Linked DNA regions of Homo sapiens: regions 1, 2, 3, 4, 5 and 6 are each linked to region 7. The links are contacts of gene promoters, found by promoter capture Hi-C in blood cells and fetal thymus (Javierre and others, 2016). All regions are on one chromosome and are shown on one strand. Each heading gives the region's core, a stretch centred on a gene start or on the middle of the fragment in contact. The rest is flanking DNA. Distances are from core to core; before and after follow the strand shown. Region 1 overlaps ZNF766 (zinc finger protein 766). Region 2 overlaps ZNF616 (zinc finger protein 616). Region 3 overlaps ZNF808 (zinc finger protein 808). Region 4 overlaps ZNF836 (zinc finger protein 836). Region 5 holds the start of ZNF528 (zinc finger protein 528). Region 6 holds the start of ZNF480 (zinc finger protein 480). Region 7 holds the start of ZNF160 (zinc finger protein 160).

Region 1 (3,599 bases), core at 1-2,500, 830 kb after region 7:
AGGCTGGAGTGCAGTGGCGTGATCTTGGCTCACTGCAACCTCCACCTCCTGGGTTCAAGTGATTCTCCTACCTTAGCTTCCCAAGTAGCTGGGACCACAGGCATGTGCCACCACTCCTGACACTACTGACCTCAAGTGATCCACCTGCCTCGGCCTCCCAAAGTGCAGGGATTATAGATGTGAGCCACCGTGCCCAGCCAGTTCCCTATTCTCTTGCCTCTTCTTCAGCTACATGTTCCTGTATCAGTTCCAATGACTCCTCATTAACCCATTCCTCATGAACCACCTCTAAGAGATTCTCAATGTCATCCTCCTCCACATCCAGGTTAAAGCTGTTTGGTAACGCACTAGGTTTGTTTCCGCCAGCATCACCACAAATACAAGGAATGCACTGCACTATGATGTCATGACTGCTCTGAGGTAGCTAGGCAACGGGAATTTTTCAGCTCCAGTGTAATCTTATGGAACCACCATCACAGGTGTGGGCTGCTGTTGACCGAAATGTCCTTATGTGGCATGTGACTGTATTATGCAATTTTATATAAGGGTCTTGAAGATCATCTGATTTGGGTAGTCTTGGGGGGATCTTGGAAGCAAATCCTACGTGATACCGAGGGATGACTATACAGGGGGACATACAGGACAAAGAGATGATTCAAGTCCTGGACAAAACAGAGTGGGACAGTGAGAGATTGTATCATCCTGCTCAGAAGGATGAGAAATTGAAAACTTGTGAATTCTTCATTTCTGGAACTTTCCACGTAATACCTTGGACTGTGGTTGACCATGAGTAACTGGAACCTCAAAAAGTACACTGGCAGATAAGGAGAAACTACTGTAGAATCAACTTCAAATATTAAGGCTGGGCCCAACCTGAGTATGTGAATGGGAATCTCAGGTAAGAGGCTGGGGGCACAAGATGTGTATCTGCACTCCAATGTGAAAACAGGGGTGAGCTCCACTCAGACGGGGCAAGCCCAGCACACCCCCACCTTCTGGCTCTGCTCTACCCTTGGGTCTTGTTACCAGGATTTACGTAGTGGACAGCAAAAGAGCAGAAAGAAACATCCAGAGCAGGCAATGTGGACCACAGTAGGGGTAAGGGTGTAGCTGGAGTGTTAAATGTAGGGTGGAGAGGAACACAGAACCCTCCATGAAGAAGGTAATATCAGAACAAAGACCTGGGGAAGAAAAGGTGTTTGCACCTGCAGCTGACAGGCTAGAGATGTCCAGGCAGAGGGACAGCCCAGGTGGAAGCCCTGAGGCAGGAGCAACCCTGGCCCCAGGAAAGAGGTCTGTGTGGCTGCGGCAGAGGGAACGAGGGGGACACAGGGAGGAGATGAGCTCAGAGAGGTCCTGGGATGCAGATCACACAGGGATGAGGCCACCAACATTTCTCTCCCATACCTCCAAAGAATTTCAGAAACAACAAATTTCCTCATCTGTTTTAGTAACTATGTAATTATTTATGTTATAAATTAATGTACTTATAGGCTGGGCATGGTGGCTCATGCCTGTAATCCCAGCACTTTGGGAGGCCAAGGCGGGCAGATCACAAGGTCAAGAGATCGAGACCATCCTGGCCAGCATGATGAAACCCCATCTCTACTAAAAATGCAAACAATTAGTTGGGCGTGATGGTGCACGCCTGTAGTCCCAGCTACTTGGGAGGCTGAGACAGGAGAATTGCTTGAACCCGGGAGGCAGAGGTTATGGTGAGCCAAGATCACACCACTGCACTCCAGCCTGGTGACACAGCAAGACTCCGTCTCGAAAAAAAAATATATTAATGTATTTACAATGTAACATCTTACATATTTTGAACATATGACAAGTTCAGCTAAGCCCCAGGAAGTACAGGGTCACCCTCATCTGAGATGTGCAGGACTGCAGGGGAATGCATTTGGGGGAGTTCAGAAAGTGGCACATACGAAGGTGGAGATGCCTGTTAGATGTCCCAGCAGAGAAGTGAGGGGACAACTGAACACAGGTTTCTAGACCTCAGGGCAGAGGTCTGCAGGGCACATGGAGACAGGTAGATGGGGTTCAAAGCCATGAGATGAGATGATAAGGAAGGGTAGTGTGTGTGAAAAGAGATGAGAAGAGTTTTGAGATCCAAGCCTATTCAACATAGGGAAACCCAGTCTGTACTAAAAAATAAAAAAATTACTCAGGTGTGGTGGTATGCACCTAGAGTCCCAGCTACTTGGGAGGCTGAGGCAGGAGGACCTCCTGAGCCCGGGAGTTCAAGGCTGCAGGGAGCTATGATTGCACCACTGCACTCCAGTCTGGGTGACAGACTGAGACCGTGTCTTAAAAACAAAAACAAAAATGAAAAAGACCTAAATCATGGGACACTCCCACATTCAGAGAAGACAGCTTCAGGAGACACCAGCAGAGGAAACTGGTAACACAAAAATCTGAAACAAAGTAATTAAACTTAGAGATGTCTTCAAAGCTAAGAAAAAAGAACAGGGAATGATCAGCTGTGCAACATGTTGCTAAGACGAAAAGATGAGGATAGGAAATTCAAAATTGGACTTCGAAACACAGAGATCACTGGTACCTCTGGGAAAAAAGGATCAAAGGAATGGTGGAGGTGAAAGCTTAATTGGAAGGGGGTAAATCAAGAACTGGAGGCAAGACTGAAGACAGAAATATAAACAAGATTTTAGTGTACTGTGTTCTCAAATGGAGCGTTGAAGAGGGGTACTCACTACAGGGAGAGATGTAATTAATAGAATATTTTTTATTTTAATCATGGAGGAGTGGCAAGAAAATGAAGGCTTCATCTGTGCTTTTTTTTTTTTTTTTTTTTTGAGACAGTCTCACTCTTGTCACCCAGGCTGGAGTGCGGTGGCATGATCTCAGCTCACTACAACCTCCATCTCGGCTCACTGCAACCTCCACCTCCTGGGTTCAAGTGACTCTCCTGCCTCAGCCTCCGGAGTAACTGGGAATACAGGTACGTGTCACCACACCCAGCTAATTTTTGTATTTTTAGTAGACATGGGGTTTCACCGTGCTGGCCAGGCTGGTCTGGAACTCCTGGCCATAAGTGATCCACCCGCCTTGGCCTCCCAAAGTGCTGGGATTACAGGCGTGAGCCATCGCACCCAGCCAGTGTGTCTGTGTGTGTTTTCATGGACAATACCTCCATGTGGGTGCACTAACCAAAGTAATCCCTTGAAGTAAATATTGGTGATGCCAGAGGAAGGATGTCACACTGTCCTGAGACTGTGAGTAGGGCTGGCACCTGGTGCACAATCGCAGGGTCAGCAACAGCCAGGGGGAGGGACAGACCATTCCCAGTTACTACTGAGTAGAGATCACAGGCCCTGAGACAGGTGGGTGGGCCGGTTGGAGATCTCTTCCCTTTACTGGTTGAGATGGAAATGTGCACGTGTTTTTCCGCATACTGACCAGTTCTCTGGCACACTCCCAGCTGGATGACCCACAATTTAACTCAATTTTGATAGTATCTACCTGGAGATAGAATCAGATCCCAGTTAAGGACTCAGTCCCACAAGACTGCCCCTCACCTCAGATATGGATAAAATTAACGGTTTCCAAAACACACTCCTCTATTTTGATTTGCT
Region 2 (3,548 bases), core at 1-2,500, 970 kb after region 7:
CCATCTCAGCTTCTCAGAGTGCTGGGATTATAGGCATGAACTACCACACCTGGCCTAGATGTCTCTTAAACATACTGATTGGATTGCCTTTGGATTTATACCCAGAAATGAGATTGCTGGATTGCATTGTTGTTCTATTTTGAATATTTTGAAGAACATCCATAGTGTTTTTCATAATGGCTGTACTGATGTGCACTCCCAGCAGCAGTGTACAAGGGCTCATTTTTCTCCATATCATTGCTAACACCTCTCTTGCCTATTTGATAATAGCCTTCCTAAGAGGTATGAGGTGACAGCTTATGGTGGTTTTGATTTGTATATCCCTGATGATTAGCGATCTTGAGTACCTTTTCATATACCTGTTGGTCATTTGTATGTTTTTTTTTGAGACAGAGTCTCACTCTTGTTGCCCAGGCTGGAGTGCAATGGCGTGATCTCAGCTCACTGCGACCTCATCCTCCGAAGCACCTGAGATTACAGGCACCTGCCACTATGCCTGGCTAATTTTTGTATTTTAGTAGAGACGGGGGTTTCACCATGTTGGTCAGGCTGGTCTTGAACTCCTGACCACAGGTGATCTGCCCGCCTCGGCTTCCCAAAGTGCTAGGATTACAAGCGTGAGCCACCGTGCCTGGCATTTGTATGTCTTATTTGCAAAATGTTCAGGTCCTTTGCCCCCTGTCCCCCCCCCGCTTTTTTTTTTTTTGAGACAAAGTCTTACTCTGCTGCCTAGACTGGAGTGCAGGGGCGCCATCTCGGCTCACTACAACATCTGCCTCCTGGGTTCTAGCGAGTCTCATGCCTCAGCCTCACAAGTAGCTGAGATTACAGGCATGTCCCACCATGCCCAGCTAATTTTTTGTGTTTTTAGTAGAGATGGGGTTTCACTGTGTTGGCCAGGCTGATCTTGAACTCCTGGCCTCAAGAGATCTGCCTGCCTCGGCCTCTCAACATGCTAGGATTACAGGCATGAGCCACTGTGCCCGGCCCAACATCAAAGAACTTTAAAAGGCATTCCCTTCCTGACTTAAGGAACAACTTCTCATTGTCCAGGCCTTCTTGTTGTACAGCCAACAAAATACTGCAAATCTCCAAAATATTCTTCAGGATGTTTATTGAGGAAAATTTTATTGAAAGGAGCCACACAATCCAAAGCTGTATTGTTCAAGGGTCAGCTGAATTGAGGAGCAAGTCCTAAGCTGAGCCCACGGGGAGAGTGGGCAGCTGGAGTGGTGGTGCATTGGTCCTGAGGGCATGGAACCCAGAGCTGCAGCACAGCAGGCACTCTCCATAGTGACTTCTGTGGGGTCCATCACTTTGGGGGCTACATTTGTTATTTTGGAGTATTTTGGGCGGCAAGTTAAGATGGTTATAGATGCATTTTGGACTATCTAAATGTCAATATGGAGAGTTTCCTTGGAAGATGTTGGGTCTCACTGGGGTATGTGCATCATTGGAGACATCTGTTTTAGTAGATGGTGGTGCCAGTGTTCAAGGGTGGGGTCATTATGAATGGAATCGAGTGTCTTGGGTCATTGAGTCCTCAGGTATCTTTGTGTGTATTAGGTCAGCAGGAGTTTATGAGTTGTTGGGGCATGTGGGATTTCGTAGCACGATATGGGGAGCACTATGGAGTATCTGGGAAGGGTGTGGACCCCAAGGAAGTTTGTAAACCTGTCTCAGTTTAGGAGGGGAACGTTAGGGCCTCAAACTCTAGTGACAAAAGGCTTTCGTTAGGGAGGGTTTTCTGTGGTGGGTCTATGGCAGGATGGTGGCTTAGGGAAGATTTTTCAAAGAATCAGAGAATATGATATCACAACGACCTGCAGCACAAAGATTTCAACTGGGACTGTCCTCGGAAGATACAGCTGTTACTTTCTCGCTGCCAGGACAGTGGTGATTACTTTCCCCCCACCTCTGTCTGCTGCAACAATCACAGGGAGCTACGAGGCAAAATGCTTTAAACTCAGTGTGGAACAGGGATATTTTCTCCAGGCAAGAGGGTCCACTAGGTGCTGGGGAGGCAGTTTGGGGAGAGGATGGGTAATGCTCTTTGGAGAATGACAGGCCTAGTAATTGCAGGGTGTAAAGGAAAAAACAAATTTTTTCCTTTCTACTCTCACACTTAACACAGAACTCTTCTGTGGCCAGTGTTGGGGAGTTTTCTCCTACACACTAAAAAATTCTCCAGCAGACAACAGCTAGATTGCCTTAGAATTCAATTTAATTCTGGCACTGTCTACCTGGAGTTAGAGTCATCTCCCACAGGTTGCCCACAGGTAAAGGGCTCAGTCTCACAAGACCTCCCCGGCTCACTTCAGCTACCATTTCGAAAGTAGTAGGTTGTCACCTATACTTCTGACCTACTGACTCCAAATTGGCATTCCTACTACCCCAGCCAAAGGTTTGATTAATTTGCTAGGATGGCTCACCGAACTTAGAGAAACACATTTACCAGTTTCTTATTGTTGAAGGACAAAATCACAACAAATTCGATCCTTTTGTAGTTAATAAATGTGATGATTGGGTTTTCACACTCATGTGAGATGTGCTTCCCTCAAACCTTGTTACGATGTCGTGATAAGGAGGGAAATTATTACAAATTCATTTTTTAACTCCTGTTCTTGTTTTCTTTTTTGGAATTTTCTTTTTTCCTAAACGTGACTTATTTCAAGGGTCAGTTTGCTAATGTGGCGTTTAGCATGAGAGACTTCATTCTGGCTTGGTCTGGTAGTGCGGGAGGCTCGTACAAAACAACGGCCTTTCCATAAAAATGAACAAAATAATGCGCTTGGCCAGGACATGGGTGGAGCTGGAGGCGATTATCCTTGGCAAACTAACACAGGGACAGAAAACCAAATACTGCGTATTCTCACTCATAAGTGGGAGGTAAATGATGAGAAAACATGGATACGTAGAGGGCAACAACACACACTGGGGCCTACCTCAGGGTGGAGGGTGGGAGGAGGGAGAGGATCAGGAAAAATAACTAATAGACATTAGGCTTAATACCCGGGTGATGGGGCCAGACGTGGTGGCTCACACCTGTAATCCTAGCACTTTGAGAGGCCGAGGCGGGCGGATCACCTGAGGTCTGGAGTTCGCAACCAGCCTGACCAATACAGTGAAACCCCGGCTCTTCTAAAAATACAAAATGAGCCAGGTGTGGTGGCACATGCCTGTAGTCCCAGCAGGAGGCTGAGGCAGGAGAATTGCTTGAACCCGGGAGGCGGAGGTTGCAGTGAGCCGAGATCGTGCCATTGCACTCCAGCCTAGGCGACAGAGCGAGACTCTGTCTCACACACACACACAAAAACCCAGGTGATGAAATAATGTATACAACAAACCCCCATGACCCGTTTACCTGTGAACCAGGCTGCACCTCCTGCACGTGTACCCCTGAACTTAAAATATAAGTTAAAAAGAGAAAAAAAATTGGCCTATTATAAAGTGTAACAACTGCAACGTCTATTTTTACCTCTAGGGAATTATTTTAAACATTGTTTACTGATGGTGGTATTGCCCATTAAATGCATGCACACACACAG
Region 3 (3,634 bases), core at 990-3,489, 570 kb after region 7:
TTCCCTAGGGCCTCCGCCTGGGATGCGGGACGGAGTGCTCAGGCCAGGGAGGAGTGAGGTCACCACCTGCTGCCTAAACACAGCAGGGATGCGGGCACGGGGCGGAAGCCTGAGGTCCCAGCTACTCAGGAAGCAGCGGCGGGAGAATCGCTGAACCTGGGGGTCCAGGCCAGCCTGGGTGACAAAGTAACACCCCCTCCCGCAGGGCTCCCTCCCTCGTCTCTCCCTCGCTCTTTTCCTTTTCTCTCTTTTTTTTTTTTTTTTTTTTTTTTTGAGACGGAGTCTCGCTCTGTCACCCAGGCTGGAGTGCAGTGGCACGATTTTGGCTCACTGCAAGCTCCGCCTCCCGGGTTCACGCAATTCTCCTGCCTCAGCCTTTGGAGTAACTGGGACTACAGGCGCCCACCACGACGCTCGGCTAATTTTTTGTATTTTTAGTAGAGATGGGGTTTCACCATGTTAGCCAGGATGGTCTTGATCTCCTGACCTTGTGATCCGCCCACCTCAGCCTCCCAAACTGCTAGGATTACAGATGTGATCCACCCCGCCCAGCCTTTTTTTTTTTAACCCGTTTTTAAATAAAATTTTTCATGGTGTGACATAGAGATCCAATATTATTCTTTTCCATGTAAATATCCAGTTAGTTGTCCCAGCACATTTGTGAAAGAGATCTATTACTTTCTCTTTTTTTACTTTTTTCTTTCCTTTTATTTTTGAGACAGAGTATTTCTCTGTGGCCCATGCTGGGGTGCAGTTGCGAGATCGTGGCTCACTGCAGCCTCTGCCTCCTGGGTTGAAGCTATTCTTCTGCCTCAGCCTTTCGAGTAGCTGGTATTACAAGCGCACACGACCATGCCCAGCTAACTTTCATATTTTTGGTAGAGACGGGGTTTCACCATGTTGGCCAGGCTGGTCTAGAACCCTGACTTCAAGTGATCCGCCAGCCTCGGCCTCCCAAAGTGCTGGGATTACACTCGTGAGTCACCATGCCTGGCCCAGGAAATATTCTTTACTTCACTTTTTAAATGTGAGAAAATATAATTGAAAAACAAAGAGTCTTCCCCCAAATGAGAAATCATCTCCACGACGATAATAGAGAAAGAAAGAAAAACTACTTCATTAATAAATAAGCTTTAGACCAGAATGTGATGGGAAATAGAGGCAAACAGCTAAGAGGTTGAAAAGAGAGAAAGAAACTTCAGTGTTCTATACAACCCATTAAGGACATGTTTTCAAGATAAACAGTAATCAGTCCTCAGGGAAGAGGACTTGAAAAGCCCTTGGTCACACATAGTTCATCCTGGCTCTACTTGGTAATGGAGGTGACCATCTCTGTCAGCTAACAAGCTTCATCCCGAGGGAGGGGGAGAAACCCTAACACTAAGCCTAATACAAAAATTAGCTGGGCATGGTGGCAGGCGCCTGTAATTTCTCTCTATTTTTAGTAGAGACAGGGTTTCACCACGCTAGCCAAGCTGGTTTTGAAATCCTGACCTCAAGTGATCCGGAAGCCTCGGCCTCCCAAAGTGTTGTGATTACAGGCTTGAGCCATGACAGTCAGCCAGGAAAACTCCTAGAAGTTGCACCTGCATTCCACTAGACTCTGGTTGCATGACCACATTCCTCTCAAGGCTCAGAATTATTTAAATGTCCATAGCTTTAAATTGGAATCATTTGATGTTTGAATTACTTAATTTCCTACTGAGACACAGGTACAATCTATCTTGTTGCTTGCCTTTTTTTTTTTTTTTTTTTTTTTTGGAGACGGAGTCTCACTTTGTCACCCAGGCTACAGTGCAGTGGCACAATCTTGGCTCACTGCAACCTCTGCCTCTCAGGTTCAAACAATTTTCCTGAGTAGCTGGGACTACAGGCATGTGCCACCATGCCCGGCTAATTTCTTCGTATTTTTAGTAGAGACAGGGTTTCAACATGTTTGTCAGGCGGTGTCGAACTCCTGACCTCGGGATTGACCCGCCTTGGCCTCCCAAAGTGCTGGGATTACAGGCGTGAGCCACTGCGCGTGGCTGTTGTTTGCCTTTCAAGGAGCTCCCAAGTTCTTCAGAAATACATCCCTGGGCCGGGCGCAGTGGCTCACACCTGTAATCCCAGTACTTTGGAAGGCCAAGGCTGGAGAATCATCTGATATCAGAAGTTCAAGACCAGCCTGGCCAACATGGTGAAACCCCGTCTCTACAAAACTATAAAAATTAGCCAGGCATTATAGCGGGTGCCTGTAGTCCCAGCTACTCTGGAAGTTGAAGCAGTAGAATCTCATGTACCTGGGAGATGGAAATTGCAGTGAGCCGAGATCGCACCATTTAACTCCAGCCTGGGCAACAAGAGCGAAACTGTGTCTCCGTTGGAAAGGAAAGAAAAGAAAACAACAGAAAAGGAAATAAAAGAAAATTAAACAAAAGAAAAGAAAGAAAACATACTACCTCAGAAAACAGAAAATGCACTTGCAAATTTTCTAATAAATGTCCTAAGAAAAGAGATGAAAGGAAAGAAAATCTCCTTCTTTAATTTCAAAGGAGGAATTATACCTCTCATTTATTGGCTTGTTTGTTTGAGATAGGGTGTAGCTCACTCACCCAGGCTGGAGTGTGGTGGCAAAAACAGGGCTCACTGCAGCCTTCAACTCCCTGGGTCAAGTGACCCTTCCACCTTTTTCATCAAGCATTTGGAAGAGATATCTACAAAATATAAACACCAATACGTTTCCAATTAAGTCCAGAAGGTAAAACATACTGAAATGTGTAAATATGACACAAAAAACAATACTTATTTTGAACTTCCCAAACATGATCTTCAAAGTTTAGGAACACAAAAGGAGTAAGATTCTTTAATAAATACTTAATAAATACTTTACGTGTACTTCAAATCATTTCTATGGAAGCCTATTTCCAATATGACAAAACGCTGACAGGGCACAAACATGTGTAAGCCTAAAGTAAGGAGTATTTTTCCACTGTGACCCTAAAATGTATCACAGTTTGCAAAAAACATATCACTGTCACATCAATGAAAAGTATAGATCCTTCATATTTACACAATATCTACTGTACACAAATAAATCCTAAAAGACCACACAATATATTATATTGGTAAATAATCCACCAGAAGCTTATGTAAGGGTAACCAAAATCAATTGAAATTCTGTATTATCAAATAATCGTAGCACAGAGAAGATAAGAAAAGATTCCAAAAATCAGCCAGGCGTGGTGGCGGTCACCTGTAGTCCCAGCTACTCAGGAGGCAGAGGCACAAGAATCACTTGAACCTGGGAGGCAGAGATTGCAATGAGCCAAGATTGTGCCACTGCACTCCAGCCTGAGTGACAGAGCGAGATTCCATCTCAAAAAAAAAAAAATGTTAATACAACCTTTTTCTGAATACCTGTCATAAAATTACCTAAATCCACGCAGAACAGGCACTTATTGAAATTAACAAGTGCAGTGTGTCAGTTCCATTACATATCATATACTGAAAAGCCATATGTGAAATCTTAAATATTAATCAGTAAACTATTCTAACCCATGATAAAACCAGCAAGCAAATAATAAGTACATTTATACAGCCTGCAGAATTCTAAACAATTCTCTCTCAAGAAAAAAGCCACAACTTCTACTTA
Region 4 (3,256 bases), core at 113-2,612, 940 kb after region 7:
TTCAGTTGATCTGCCCGCCTCTGCCTCCTAAGGTGCTGGGATTACAGGCGTGAGCCACCATGCCAGGACACTTGGTCTTTGTTTAGGAATTTATTATCCTTGCATCCCCCTGGTGCAGTGGGCTGTCTCTCCACATGCTGAGGTCTTCCCTGTGGGCATGGTTGTAGCGCAGAAAGGAATGTGTTGTTTCCAAGCATTAAACAACAGATTTTTCACTTTCAGATTTGACTTGTAAAGAATTAATTATATTGACTGAGAGAGAAGCCCAGAAGAGGAAGAAGAGGAAAGAAAAGGAGTCAGGGATGGCTCTTACACAGGTAAAATGATATTCTTAGTGGATCATTCTGTCTCCTTCCTTTTTGAAATGCGACACATTGGAGTTGCGAATCTCCTCTGAGTCTGAAGCATCCTGCCTGACACGTTTGCTGCCATTCACCCATGCCTTCCCTCAGTTTCTCTCATCTCATTTAGCTTCTATCTCACTGCGACCCAGTGACATTAACTTGGGAAGAGGCTCCACTGGGCATGGTCCTGGGAGAGACTCACACCCAGACACGGATGGAGACGGGGTATGGGCCCCACAATGTCAGAGCTGTTGGCAGCAGAGATTGTTTAGAGGCAAAATCAGGATGCAGTCAGCTCTCTGTAGACCAGAAGTAGAGAAGCTGCACACGGAAGTCACATATTAATGTGCACGATACCTCATAAATTCTGGAAAAGAGACCTATGAGGGGAGATCTTTTCTGCCTAATTTTATACTACATTTGAAGGTGTATGAATTAATCACTGTTTCTAACTTCAAAATCTTAATGACTGGGAATGGAATGGACAATTAGATACACACGTCAGTGATAGAGGGTGTTTATTTTATCATTGATTTTTTTTTTTTTTTTTTTTTTTTTGAGACGGAGTTTCGTTCTTGTTGCCCAGGCTGGAGGGCAATGGTGTGATCTCGGCTCACTGCAACCTCCACCTCCCTGGTTCAAGTGATTCTCATGTCTCAGCCTCCTGAGTAGCTGGGATTACAGGCATGCGCCACCACGCCCGGCTGATTTTTGTATTTTTAGTAGAGATGGGGTTTCACCATGTTGGTCAGGCTGGTCTAGAACTCCCAACCTCAGGTGATCCTCCCGCCTCGGCCTCCCAAAATGCAGGGATTACAGGTGTGACCCACCGTGCCTGGCCCATCATTGATTTTAAAATATAAAATCAACCTGAATGTCAGATTCTTTTAGCCATTGTCACTGTATCCGTCCCACAGAGACTGCGGTGTTCATGCTGGGACTCTTCGCAGTTGTTTTATGTAAAAAGGTTATAATTTTGCTCAGATGTAGGAGCAGAACTCCTTTGTTATTAGAGAAGATGGAGCCAAATTCTCTCATTCCACCAGTTATTACTGAACATCATATTTCTTTTATTTTAAACATCACATAATATATTTGTTTGCAGTAAAAGTCCAAGCAGAGATGCAGTTGAGGCATTAAGAAGTTGGTACAGGCCGGGCGCGGTGGCTCACGCCTGTAATCCCAGCACTTTGGGAGGCCGAGGCGGGCGGATCACGAGGTCAGGAGATCGAGACCATCCTGGCTAACAAGGTGAAACCCCGTCTCTACTAAAAAATAAAAAAAAAAAAATTAGCTGGGCGTGGTGGCGGGGGCCTGTAGTCCCAGCTACTTGGGAGGCTGAAGCAGGAGAATGGCATGAACCCAGGAGGTGGAGCTTGCAGTGAGCCGAGATCGTGCCACTGCACTCCAGCCTGGGCGACAGAGCGAGACTCCGTCTCAAAAAAAAAAAAAAAAGAAGTTGGTACAACATGAAGATGATAGGAAAATAATATTTTATTATATATGAAATTCATGCTATGTTAGATTTTAGCTGTTCCTGTCAAAAAAAAAGGTACCTCTGAGATGATGGATATGTTAATTTGTTAAACCATAGTGACTTTTTTTACTATCTATACTGTAATATCATGTTGTATACCTTATATATACCATAAAATTTATAAGCAAACATAAAACATGGGGCATCAAGGAAACATTTCAGTTTTATGCTAAAAAAAAATTTATAATCTTAAAAAAGGACATTGGCCAGGCGCAGTGGCTCATGCCTGCAATCCCAGCACTTTTGAAGGCTGAGGCAGGCGGATCACCAGGTCAGGAGTTAGAGACCAGCCTGGCCAACATAGTGAAACCCCACCTCTACTAAAAATACAAAAATTAGCCTGGCGTGGTGGCGCATGCCTGTAGTTCCAGCTACTCGGGAGGCTGAGGTAGGAGAATCCCTTGAACCCAGGAGGCAGAGGTTGCAGTGAGCTGAGATTGCACCATTGCACTCCAGCCTGGGTGACAGAGCTAGACTCTGTCTCCAAAAATAAAAATAAAAATAAAAAAAGGACATTAAGGCATATATATTCTGAAAATTTAACTACAGAATATGAAATGGCTGCTAGAATGCAGTAAAAAAAAATTGAGCAAAGAATGAAGATTATTTTATTTTGATTTCTACAAATTAATGAAATGGAAAATGGAAATGCAAAGAGTTATCATTTTCCCCAGATCTTCAACATCTAAAAGAAACATAGTAGTAGGTTTTGTTCAAATGAGTGAGAAATCTCGTGTGATGTTGGTGGGAGAGGGCTGCTTTGCAGCTCAGGGTAGTGGAGAATCTTGCCAGATCTAGCAAAGCAGGAAATGCACCATCCTAGAGGAAGCGATCACTCTTTCAAGTGCCCAACCTGGGGGAACCCAGGTTCCTTTCCCTATCACATCATCCACCATCCCTCATGTTTCTGTGGGGAGCTACTGTTGCAAGTTCTGTGGCAAGAGTCAGTGAGAGGTGTCAAGTTGCATTTACACGTCATTATGAGATTTCAGAAAACAATTCTTCAGTGAATGTTCTGCTGTGAAGTTTTGTTTTGCAAGTTTTTGAAGTGTACATATTTTTATGTTAATAAACACTAATAGTTTGTTTTGCATCCTCTTTGGAGCAGTGCCTAAATGAAGACGTATGGGTCTTTTACTGTTTTTTGCTGTTACAAAGAATGTCACCGTGGCTGCCTGTATGCATGCTATCTTTACCACAGATGTCTGAAGTTTCCTCCAGGTTGGGCAGTTTAAAGAGTGAGTGCCTCTTTTAGGATGGCATACCACAAAAGCAAAAATAAATAAATGTTTTCCTTTATCTTTTTCTGGAAGGCCTGGCTCACAGAGTGATCATAAAATACTATGTTTCTTTTAGATCTAAGGTTTTCTTGCTT
Region 5 (3,230 bases), core at 94-2,593, 710 kb after region 7:
CATATCTCTCATTCTCATCTTTTTTCCTAGCTCTTTTTTTCTCTATTTTCCCCTAGGATTCTGTTCATTTTGAGTCCCTCCTCTTCTCTTTGTCCCATTCTTCCCTCTATTCCTTCTCTCCCACCTGTTCTGATCCATTTTTACAACTTGTTTCACCTCTTATTCCTCTTTCTGCCCAATCTTTCATTGTCCCTAATCTCCATATATTTCTGCCTCTTTCCTCCCACATCTCAGCTCCCCTTGGGGTCTCCCTGTTAAATTCCATCTTCGATATTACACACCCCTGTCCCCACTCTCTGGCACCCTTAGATCCCAGGCCTCCCCCTGCTGTGGTTCTCCCTGTTCTCCTTGTGACCAGCTGCCCCCTCTGGCTGTCCCAGCACCACGCTGCTCTGTCTGACCTGGCTCCAAATCCCTCCTCCTCTCCCCCCTCTGTCTGAGAAGCCTTCCCTATCTTGTTGAATTTCGTCTTTCTACAGACCCAGGTTTGTCTATATTTTTACAGTTACTTTTCTCCCCTGCTATTTTCTCGGCACCTTCTTTCACTGTGCCTCTGCAAACCCCTCACTCACCTTCTACTTTGCCTTCTGTTAATGGGTCTCTCATTCTTCATTTCTCTTTCAAAATTTCTCTATTTCCTCTGCCTCGTTCCCATCTCTTTTTCTCCACACATTCACAGGGAGGGGATTGGAATAAGATGCCCACTTCCGGAAGAGCTCATTTTCTGTGGGCTGGAAACTGGCTCGAGAGAACACTGGATGTCAGGAGACTGAAGTCACCCCCCACACTCGGGGTCAGGAGAACCGGTGGCTGGAAAAGGGAGGCCTGGGGAACAGAGGGTCCAGATTAAGGAGCAAAAAGGCAGGAGTGGGTCAGGAGAGGGGTGGAGTCTGCAGAAACCAGGTCTGGGCAGAGGACGAGGCCTCTCGTGCCCTGTTGGGGCGCTGAGCTCTAGGGGCAAAGAAGGGCGAGGCTAGGGGAACGGAGAGTGAGGATTTTACGTGGTGCGGGGCGTGTGTAGGGGTTACTAAAGGATTTGAAGCAGGTAAACCCCACGATAGGAGGTGTCTACGTGGGTAAATGACAAAAAGACCGGGCACACGACCAGCCTCCAAGCGATTTTAACACGCAGAAAGCGACTCCCAGACTCTCAAAGGATGTCTGAATTTACTCGGGGTGGAGGGAGCGGTGCCGGGATTTCAAGGTCTGCATGCCCCTCAGCTCCCGGGTATAGAAGCAGAGAAGAACTGGCTAGCCTAGACTTAACATAGACAAAGGGAAACTCACGCACTGCTGCGAAAACAGTTTCTCCCTGCAATCGGCTTCCGGGTCTACCGGAAACTGCGCTCTAGGCGTTCGCCCCCCGCGGTCCGCTTCCGGGTTTGCACGAAATTGCGCGCGCATCCTAGAGGCCGGACTGGCTGGGACCAGGGCGGGCCGGGACAAAGCCTGGGCCGGGCCTGCGCTTCCGTTCGCTTGACTGGCTGCGCTTGTTTTCAGGGTTTTGGTCTGAAAACGGATCTTACCTGCGCAGAGCAAAATCGGTTGTAGATTATATCCACGAAAATTCCTTCTATTAAAATGAATTTCAAGTCCCACCTACCCTGGAAGCAGAAAGAGAGAGAAGAGAGAGAGTAAAGAGAAAGAGAAAAGAAAGAGAAGTTGAAAAAGAGAAAGAAAACCAAGAAAGAAAGAGAAAAAAACCGAAAATAAATGGACAAGAAAGAAAAGTAAGGAGGGAAGGGAAGGGAGGAAGGGAAGGGAAGCTTTAGGAATTGAATTAACACACTTTGGAATTGTCTGTGAAGGGGATGATGCAAGCTAAAATGTGAAATGCAAAACCCTGCCAGGGTAGAATGTTCTATTTCATGCCAGTGCCCATAGAAGATAAATACTTTTCATTTATCTTCCCCATTCACTCTAGACGGTGAAGGTCAACCCTGTGCTCAATTCCAGAGACTTTCCTAGGGACATCGTGTTGGGCATGGAGGACTAAGGCCAGTGTGAAGATAAGTCACCGATTCTTTAAAAAAAAAAAGCCAGTAACTTATAAAAATAGCCATAAACGACGTAGTTTTTTGTTGTTGTTGTTGTTTTGAGACAGCGTCTCCCTCTGTCCCCCAGGCGGGAGTACAGTGGCAGGCACTCAGCTCACTGTAACCTCCGCCTCCTGGGTTCAAGTGATTCTCTTGCCCCAGCCTCCAGAGTAGCCACCACGCCCGGTCCAACTTAGTTTTTTAATACTTTTTAAAATTTTAAGACAGGGTCTCTGCCACCGAGGCTGAAATGCAGTGGCGCAATCATAGCTCACTGCAACCTTGACTTCCTGGGGTCCTGGGCAGGTGACCCCCTGTCTCAGCCTGCCGAGTAGCTGTGAGTAAAGGCCTGTGCCTCTCCACTGTGCTAATTTTCTACTGTTTGTTGCTTTGTTTTTAATAGAGATGTAGTCTGGTTTTGTTGCCCAGGCTGGTCTCCAGCTTCTAGCCTCAAGCAGTCTTCCCATCTGCTCCTACCAAAGTGCTCGGATTATAGGCATGAATCACCTTGCATGGGAGATAAGGACCCCCACATCAAGCCCTCAGGTTATTTTTGAAACACAAATACATAAGGCCCACAAGCAGGCCCATTGGCTGCAGACAGTGGGGTCACCTGAAGAACTTTTCTTTGATCTGAGTACCAACTTCTCACCTAGGTCACTGGGATCCTGGACTACGGCACTGCTCCAGGCAGGCCTGGTTATCCTGCTTGAGGCAGCAATCCTCTTGAGCCTAGTGAAATGCAACTGGCTGTACCTCAATGATGTTGCCCTGAGATTCTGCCAGTCGAGGTATTACTTCAATCTCCTGAGACCAGCCTCTACCTCCAGATCCAGGGAGGTCAGTGCACATGTAAATGGACTAGCTTTATTAAAGGGGATATCTGGGCCAGGCGTGGTGGCTCACGCCTGTAATCCCAATACTTTGGGAGGCCGAGGAGGGCAGATCACCTGAGGTCGGGAATTAGAGACCAGCCTGGTTAACATGGTGAAACGAAGTCTCTACTAAAAATACAAAAAAAAAAAAAAAAAAAATTAGCCAGGCATGGTGGCACACGCCTGTAGTCCCAGCTACTCGAGAGGCTGAGACACAAGAATTGCTTGAATCTGGGAGGTGGAGGTGCAGTAAGCCAAGATTGCGCCACTGCACTCCAGCCTGGGAGACAGAGCGAGACTCCGTCTCAAAAAATATAAA
Region 6 (3,473 bases), core at 736-3,235, 810 kb after region 7:
TGACCCACACCTGAATGACTCAAGTCACTGACCTGTGCCTGAATAGGGAATGTGAGTGGAAGCTAAAGTCTGATGCCAAGAATTATAAAATGCACCAGCCTTACAGACAGGAGTTTTGCATATCCATTTTCATCTGTATTTTTAAAGTATATTTCATATTATCAAATTATAAATAGATAAATCAATGTCACAACTTAATCATAATATCCAATCAACTCACCGTTCATCTGCACCCAGGGTTCCCTCTTTTCTGGGTACTGTGTTTCCCTCCCTCATTCTGTACGTATCTCTCATTCTCACCTTCTTTCTCTAGCTTTTTTCCCCCTTTATTTTTCCCCTAAGATTCTGCTCATTTTGAGCCCCTCTCTTCTCCTGATGTTTCTCCCCTTCTTCCTTCTATTCCTTCTCTTCCACCTGTTCTGCTCCATTCTGGCAACTTGTTTCACCCCTCTTCCAAACTTTCTGCTCAATCTTTGATCATCCCATTCTCCACCTATTTGTCTCTTTTTTTTTTTTTTCCCTGAGACGGAGTTTTGCTCTTGTCGCCCAGCCTGGAGTGCAATGGCGCAATCTCAGCTCACTGCAACCTCCGCCTCCCGGGTTCAAGCAATTCTCCTGCCTCAGCCTCCTGAGTAGCTGGGATTACACGCGCGCGCTGACGCCCGGCTAATTTTTGCATTTTTAGTAGAGATGGGGTTTCACCATGTTGCCCACGCTGGTCTCAAACTCCTGACCTCACGTGATCCACCCACCTTGGCCTCCCAAAGTGCTGGGATTACAGGCGTGAGCCACTGTGCCCGGTCTTGCCTCTTCCCCTGACTCTACTCCCCCTCTGCTCTCTCTGTTAAATCCCTTCTTTTCTGTTACACCCCCTTGTCCCCACTCTCTGGCACCCTGAGATCCCAGGCCTCCACCTGCTGTGGTTCTCCCTCTGCTCTCGTTGTCACCAGCTGACTCCTCTTGCTGTCCCAGCACCACGCTGCTCTGTCTGCCCTGGCTCCAAATCCCTCCCCCTCTCCCCCACTCTCAAACTGAGGAACTTCCCACTTTGCTGCCCCTCTCACTATCTTGCTGTCCTTCATCTCTCCGGAGATGGAACTTTTCTCTGCATTTCTCCAGTTGCTTTTTTCCCCCTGCTACTTTCTCGGCTTCATTCGCTGTCTCTGCAAATCCTCCATCCACTCTCTACTTTGCCATCTGCTTACGGCTCTCCCTCAATCTTCTTTTCTCCTTCAAAATTTTTCTCTTTCTTCTCCCTCGCTCTCCGTCTCTCTTTCTGCACACATTCACATGGAAGGAATTGGGATCCGATGTCCACAAGCAGAACACCTTTTCAGTGGGGTGTTATTTGGCCCGCAAGAACACTGGATGTCAAGAGACAGAGTAAGTCACCTCCCCACACGCAGGGTTAGGAGAAGCGGTGTCTGGGAAGAGGAGGCCTGGGGAGTAGCGGGGCCCCGTATCAAGGAGGGTAAAGGTAGGGTCTGGATCAAGAGATGGGTGGCGTCTGCAGAATCCCAGCACTGGGCAGAAGACGCGGCTTCTCCTGGATTGAGATTGGAGCGCTGTGCTCCAGGGCCAACAAAGGCGAGGCTTGGGGGACCGCATAGACCGGAATCCGCCTAGCGGGGGAGGACTTTACGCTGTGCGGGGCGGATGTAAGCATCACTGAAGGACTTGAAACAGGAAAACTCCGCGACAGGAGGTGACTACATGGCCCTGTGGCAGAAGGACGGGGGACAGGACCCGCCGCCGAGCGATTTAAACACACAGGGAAGCGACCGCCTGACTCTCACGGAGACGCCTGAATTTGGTCGGGGTAGAGGGAGCGGTGCGAGGATTTCAAGGTCTGTGTGGCCCCTCAGATCCCGGGTACAGAAGCGCGGGGGAGTTGGGAAGCGCAGATTAATTTACACAAAGGGAAACTCACGCGCCGCGGCGTGACCTTCACTCCACGCGATCCGCTTCCGGGTTTGTGGGAAACTGCGCGCGCAGCGGAGGGGTCCGAGCGGGGCGGGGGCGGGGGCGGGGGCGGGGGCGGGGGCGGGGGCGGGGGCGGGGGCGGGGGCGGGGGCGGGGGCGGGGGCGGGGGCGGGGGCGGGGCGGAGTGGGGCTTGCGCTTCCCTCCGCCTCGCTTCCAGTGCCTCTGTTTTCCGGGTTTTGCCGGGGAGACCTGTCAAGGAGACTGGAGCAACTCAGCTGTCTCGGAACTGTACTCTTGCCGGGACTGAGCAAAGTCGGCTAATGATTAGATCCAGGAAAATTCCTGCTATTAAAGTTAATCTTAAGCCGACCGTGCGGTCGGGCACCTGTAGTCCCGGCTACCCCGAAGACTGAGGCGGGAGGATCGCTTGAGCCCAGGAGTTCGAGTTTACACTGAGTTATGACGGCCACTGCACTCCAGCTTGGGCGACAGAGACTCAGTCTCTCAAATAAATACATAAAAAACTAAATTTAGCAATTTAATTAAGCCCTGGGATTGTCTGTGAAAGCGACGCAAGTTAATACATGAACTGCAAAGCCCTGCCTGGGCAGAATGTGCAATTTCATGCTGACGGCCCACAAAGCAGAATAGAAATCCTCTCCTTTTCTATTCCCTGTTCTTTCGGGAGGGACAGAGGTAACCCTGTGCTCAGCTCCAGAGAGTTTTCTAGTGACAGCACCAGGGGCATGGAGGGCTAAGGCCAGTGAGAATTTAGGTCACCAATTGTTGGTTTTAAAAAAGCATTAACCGGGCGAGGTGGCTCACACCTGTAATCCCAGCACTTTGGGAGGTCAAGGCAGGTGGATCATTTGAGGTCAGGAGTTCGAGACCAGCCTGGCCAACACGGTAAAACCCCATCTCTACTAAAAATACAAAAATTAGCTGGGCATGGTGGCATACGCGTGTAATCCCAGCTACTCAGGAAGCTGAGGCAGGAGAATCGCTTGAACCTGGGAGGCGGAGGTTGCAGTGAGCTGAGATTGTGCCACTGCACTCCAGACCAGGCAACAGAACAAGACTCTGTCTCAAAAAAAAAAAAAAAAAGTCAAAAAATATGTTAATTTAACATTCTCAGGATTTTAAAACTACAAAATGCTGATGAAAGAAATCAAAGACACCCAGATAGAGACATATACAATATCAATTTATTGATAAACTCAACATAGAAAAAAATGTGAAATTACCCCAAATTGATACACAGGGTTAATATATTTACTATCAAGGCACTTCGTAGATACTGACAAGATTATCCAAACAATTATGTAGAAAAGCAAAAAACAAAACAAACCAACAGAAATCCCAAAAAACCTGGAATAGCTCAAACATCTGAAAAAAAAGATAGAGCAGCATGCTCCCGGGAGGTGAAGGTTGCAGTGAGCTGAGATCACTCCATTGCACTCCAGCTTAGGCAACAAGAGTGAAACTCCATCTCAAAAAAATAAATAATAAAATAAATAAATAAAATAAAGATAAAGGGTTGGAATCACTT
Region 7 (3,311 bases), core at 486-2,985:
TGCACTCTAGCCTGGGCAACAGAGCAAGATGCTCTCTCAAAAAATAAATAGACCGGGCACGGTGGCTCACGCCTGTGATCCCAGCACTTTGGGAGGCCAAGGTGTGGGGGATCCCTCGAGCTCAGGAGTTCGAGTCTAGCCTGAGCAACATGGCGAAACCCCGTCTCTACAAAAAGTACAAAAATTAACTAGGCATGGTGACGTGTGCTTGTAGTCCCAGCTACTGGGGAGATTGAGGTGGGAGGATTGCCTGAGCCTGGTAGATGAAAAGTTGCAGTGAGCAGAGATGACGCCACTGCACTCCAGCCTGGGTGACAGAGCAAGACTCTCTCCAAGAAATATGTAACATTTTTAACATAACATAACATAACATAACAAACTTTCCCTGAATAACTGTAGTCATGCCAAGTGCTCATCCACAGCCTCATAACTTGTGCTTGTGCTTTCTAGCCTTGTTTACTCCTCCATATATGAAAAAAAGAAAAAAAAGCTTTTTAGTTTGTGTCTCTTGGACATTTTCAGATCTTGTGATTGGAACATTCTCTCTATTGCAATAGTCCTTTTGAATAAAATCTTCCTTCTCTAAGTCTGAATTTGTCATTTACAGTGGTAAATATCTTAATTGTTCTGAGATAAATTATGTATATTATCTTTTTGTGGCAAAGGACTTAATATATATTCAGTAGGTGAAAGTAGTTCCTGGGGCCAGGTATGGTGGCTCACGCCTGTAATCCCAGCACTTTGGGAGGCTGAGGCGGGTGGATCACTTGAGGTCAGGAATTCGAGACCAGCCTAGGCAACATGGTGAAACTTCATCTCCGCTAAAGAACGTGGTGGCGGGCGCCTGTAATCCTAGCTACTCGGGAGGCTGAGGCAGGAGCATTGCTTGAACCCGGGAGGCCGAGGTTGCAGTGAGCAGAGATCATGCCACTGCACCCCAGCCTGGACGACAGAGCGTGACTCCGGCTCAAAAAAAAAAAAAAAAAGTATAGGCGTTTGAGGTTGTCATCTCGCACGGAATAGAATAGTAAGTATAAAAAAGGACAATGCAATTTATATCTATTTTTTAAAAGTTACTGCTAATTTCAGGGCTTTTAAATTACTTAATTTTAATCGCAGAAACTTTTCCAGCATGCCATCACCGCTCCGTGTCAACCCATGTTCCCAGACTCCTGGGCTGCTTCAGCGTCAATAACATTACTGGGTAAACGCGCTAGCAAAAAATGCTTTCAACATAAACCGCCTCCATTCTAAGAGGAAAGCAGTTTGGTTTCCAAAATAACCTACACAACTGTGCTTTTAACTTGAAACCGTTTGAAACATCTACGCCGTTCCACAAGACACTACAGATGGCTCTGGGCGCTGGGCTGTGGGCATCACACGAAATCGCAGACCCTAACGTGTCCCGTCCAGCCCCGCCTCTCCCCCGGGTCCCTTCCTGGCGGTCCCTCTGCCTCCCTCCCCCGCGGTCCCTTCGCCTTCCTCCCCCGCGGTCCCTTCCCGCGGTTCCTCCCCGCCCTTCCCCGGCGGCTCCTCCCCGGCCCGCCCCCGGGTCCCTCCACTTGGTCACTCCCCACCCCTCCCCGGTGGCTCCTCCCCGTTCCTTCCCTGGGGTCCCTGCCTGGCGGCCCCTGCTTCAGCCCGGCTCTCTCAACGCCCCGCCCTTTTCCGGTTCCGCCCATCTCGGACCCCGCCCCGGGCCGCTCGGTCGCTTTCCTTCGCGCAGTTGCCCACAGACCCGGAAGTGGATCGTGCGGAGCAAGCATCACACCATGGCGTATGAGTGTTCCTCTGTGTAGACTCAACCTGCGCCTCGCCGTCCCCCATTCGCACACCCGATGCCCGGGGGTCGCTACGGACTTAAAATCTCCGCACCGCACCCTCCACCTCAGGTAAATAGGCCTTGCTGTGTGGGCCCGGAGACGCTTCCTTTTGGGTTAAAGTCGCCCTGAGGCTGGTCCCTGCCCCCGGTCTTTCTGCCTTGGGCCAAGTAAACACGGCCTTTCCCGGTTTTTTAAACGTTTAAGCAGGATTTTCCTGCTTAAAATCCTTTACTGACTCCTCCTCCCGCCCCGCATCGCTTAAAGTCCTCACCGCCTGCCCTGGGCGCCTCCCAGCCTCGCTCTCGTCGGCCCCTGGAGCGCAGCGCCGCCGACCCAGTCCCGGGGAGGCCGCGCCTCCGCCTGGTCCTGGGATCCTGCACATCCCACCCCTGTCCTAAGGCGCCGTCGCCCCCCACCTCCCTCCTCCTCGTGCCGGGCCCTGCTGCTCCCCAGGCCTCCCCTTCGCAGTCACCGCTTCCCTTGAGCCCTCGTTGGGGAGGTGCCCGGGGCCCGTCCTGTGACACCCGGTGTTTTTGCCTGCCCAGCTCCACCCCCTGGAAAATGTACTCCTCCAACATGCAGACATCTTACTACAAACCCTCCAGTGAATGTGTGGCCCAAGGGAATCAGGAGAAAGAGAGACAAAGAGCCACTGAGAGGAGATGGAAAAACCAAGAAAGAGAAAAGAAAAATGAGGGAGACCCATAAACAGATGGCAAAGTGGAGGATGGGTGAGAGATTTGCAGCGACAGAGTGAAAGAAGCAGTCAAGAAAGTAGCAGGGGCAGAAAAGCAATTGGCGAAATGTAGAGAAAAGCTCGATGTCCCGAGATGCAGGACAACAAGATAAGGAGAGGGACAGCAAAGAAGGAGCCTCCTCAGACAGAGAGTGGGGGAGAGGAGAAAGGATTTGGCCGAGGGCAGACAGAGCTGCGTGGTGCTGGGACAGCTGGAGGGGACAGCTGGTGACAAGGCGAGCAGAGGGAGCACCACAACACAGGGAGGCCTGGGATCTGGGAGTGCCAGAGAGTGGGGATAAGCGGGTGTAACAGGGAAGAGGGGATTTAACAGGGAGAGCAGAGGAGGCGCGGAGATGGGGTAAGAAAGAGGCAGAAATAGATGGAGATTGGGACGATGAAAAGATTGGAAAGAAAACGCCACAAGAGGTGAAACAAATTGGAAGAATGGAGTAGAACAGATATAAGGGGAAAAAACAAAGAAGGGAGAAACAGCAGAAGAAAAAAGAGGCACAACATCGTCAGAATCCTAGGGGGAAGATAAAAGGGGAAAAAGGCTGGAGAGACAAGGTGAAAGTGAGAGGCACAAAATGGGGGAGAGGAACACATAGTTATAAAGAAAGAGGGGCGCCCTGGGGCCAGGTGAGAGGTGAGTTGAGATTGGATATGACAATTTGATTTCTCTATTTATAATGTGTTACATTTAAATTGTAATCTAATTGTTTAAATTCTACATATAAGGATGAGAATTA

What was found. Contacts are between HindIII fragments. The CHiCAGO score rates a contact against its expected background, and 5 or more counts as called.
Region 1: a contact is called between a fragment that was not itself captured here and the fragment with the promoter of ZNF160 in region 7, in 1 of 17 cell types (neutrophils). The highest score is 5.7, in neutrophils.
Region 2: a contact is called between a fragment that was not itself captured here and the fragment with the promoter of ZNF160 in region 7, in 1 of 17 cell types (total CD8 T cells). The highest score is 8.2, in total CD8 T cells.
Region 3: a fragment that was not itself captured here is called in contact with the fragment with the promoter of ZNF160 in region 7 in 1 of 17 cell types (fetal thymus); the score reaches 7.7 in fetal thymus.
Region 4: a contact is called between a fragment that was not itself captured here and the fragment with the promoter of ZNF160 in region 7, in 1 of 17 cell types (non-activated CD4 T cells). The highest score is 5.3, in non-activated CD4 T cells.
Region 5: the fragment with the promoter of ZNF528 here is called in contact with the fragment with the promoter of ZNF160 in region 7 in 12 of 17 cell types (naive CD8 T cells, activated CD4 T cells, non-activated CD4 T cells and 9 more); the score reaches 12.4 in naive CD8 T cells.
Region 6: a contact is called between the fragment with the promoter of ZNF480 here and the fragment with the promoter of ZNF160 in region 7, in 11 of 17 cell types (neutrophils, non-activated CD4 T cells, naive CD8 T cells and 8 more). The highest score is 15.4, in neutrophils.

Annotation. Positions count from the first base shown.
Region 1 is chr19:52,271,201-52,274,799 of GRCh38, reverse strand. The region is part of intron 1 of ZNF766 (zinc finger protein 766); the gene reads right to left. It overlaps LOC124904763 (a long non-coding RNA gene), which reads left to right. Exons shown (of 4, transcript XR_007067331.1): 3 at 2,827-2,965. Among named protein-coding and RNA genes, the nearest start is that of ZNF766, 3.4 kb to the right of the region's middle. The HindIII fragment of the contact is 2,716 bases long and covers 1-2,608 here.
Region 2 is chr19:52,133,288-52,136,835 of GRCh38, reverse strand. The region is part of intron 1 of ZNF616 (zinc finger protein 616); the gene reads left to right. It also overlaps the pseudogene LOC124904799. Among named protein-coding and RNA genes, the nearest start is that of ZNF616, 4.9 kb to the left of the region's middle. The HindIII fragment of the contact is 4,618 bases long and covers 1-3,548 here.
Region 3 is chr19:52,531,970-52,535,603 of GRCh38, reverse strand. ZNF808 (zinc finger protein 808) reads right to left here. Exons shown (of 5, transcript NM_001039886.4): 2 at 2,595-2,696. Among named protein-coding and RNA genes, the nearest start is that of ZNF808, 6.1 kb to the right of the region's middle. The HindIII fragment of the contact is 1,779 bases long and covers 1,350-3,128 here.
Region 4 is chr19:52,165,119-52,168,374 of GRCh38, reverse strand. ZNF836 (zinc finger protein 836) reads left to right here. Exons shown (of 5, transcript NM_001102657.3): 3 at 223-317. The coding sequence starts at 303. Among named protein-coding and RNA genes, the nearest start is that of ZNF836, 4.9 kb to the left of the region's middle. The HindIII fragment of the contact is 4,474 bases long and covers 1-3,256 here.
Region 5 is chr19:52,395,962-52,399,191 of GRCh38, reverse strand. ZNF528 (zinc finger protein 528) reads right to left here and starts at 1,343. Exons shown (of 7, transcript NM_032423.3): 1 at 1,288-1,343; 2 at 573-825. It overlaps ZNF528-AS1 (ZNF528 antisense RNA 1), which reads left to right and starts at 1,435. Exons shown (of 7, transcript NR_125345.1): 1 at 1,435-1,730; 2 at 1,925-1,997; 3 at 2,440-2,582; 4 at 2,693-2,827. It also overlaps a transcript of ZNF880 not described here. RefSeq lists an enhancer at 832-2,031. The HindIII fragment of the contact is 5,447 bases long and covers 1-1,768 here.
Region 6 is chr19:52,295,681-52,299,153 of GRCh38, reverse strand. It overlaps ZNF480 (zinc finger protein 480), which reads right to left and starts at 1,985. Exons shown (of 5, transcript NM_144684.4): 1 at 1,931-1,985. ZNF766 (zinc finger protein 766) reads right to left here. Exons shown (of 4, transcript NM_001010851.3): 4 at 3,108-3,473. RefSeq lists enhancers at 1,754-1,803, 1,874-1,923. The HindIII fragment of the contact is 10,959 bases long and covers 1-3,473 here.
Region 7 is chr19:53,101,846-53,105,156 of GRCh38, reverse strand. It overlaps ZNF160 (zinc finger protein 160), which reads left to right and starts at 1,735. Exons shown (of 6, transcript NM_001322131.2): 1 at 1,735-1,892. RefSeq lists a silencer at 1,283-1,692. The HindIII fragment of the contact is 3,069 bases long and covers 493-3,311 here.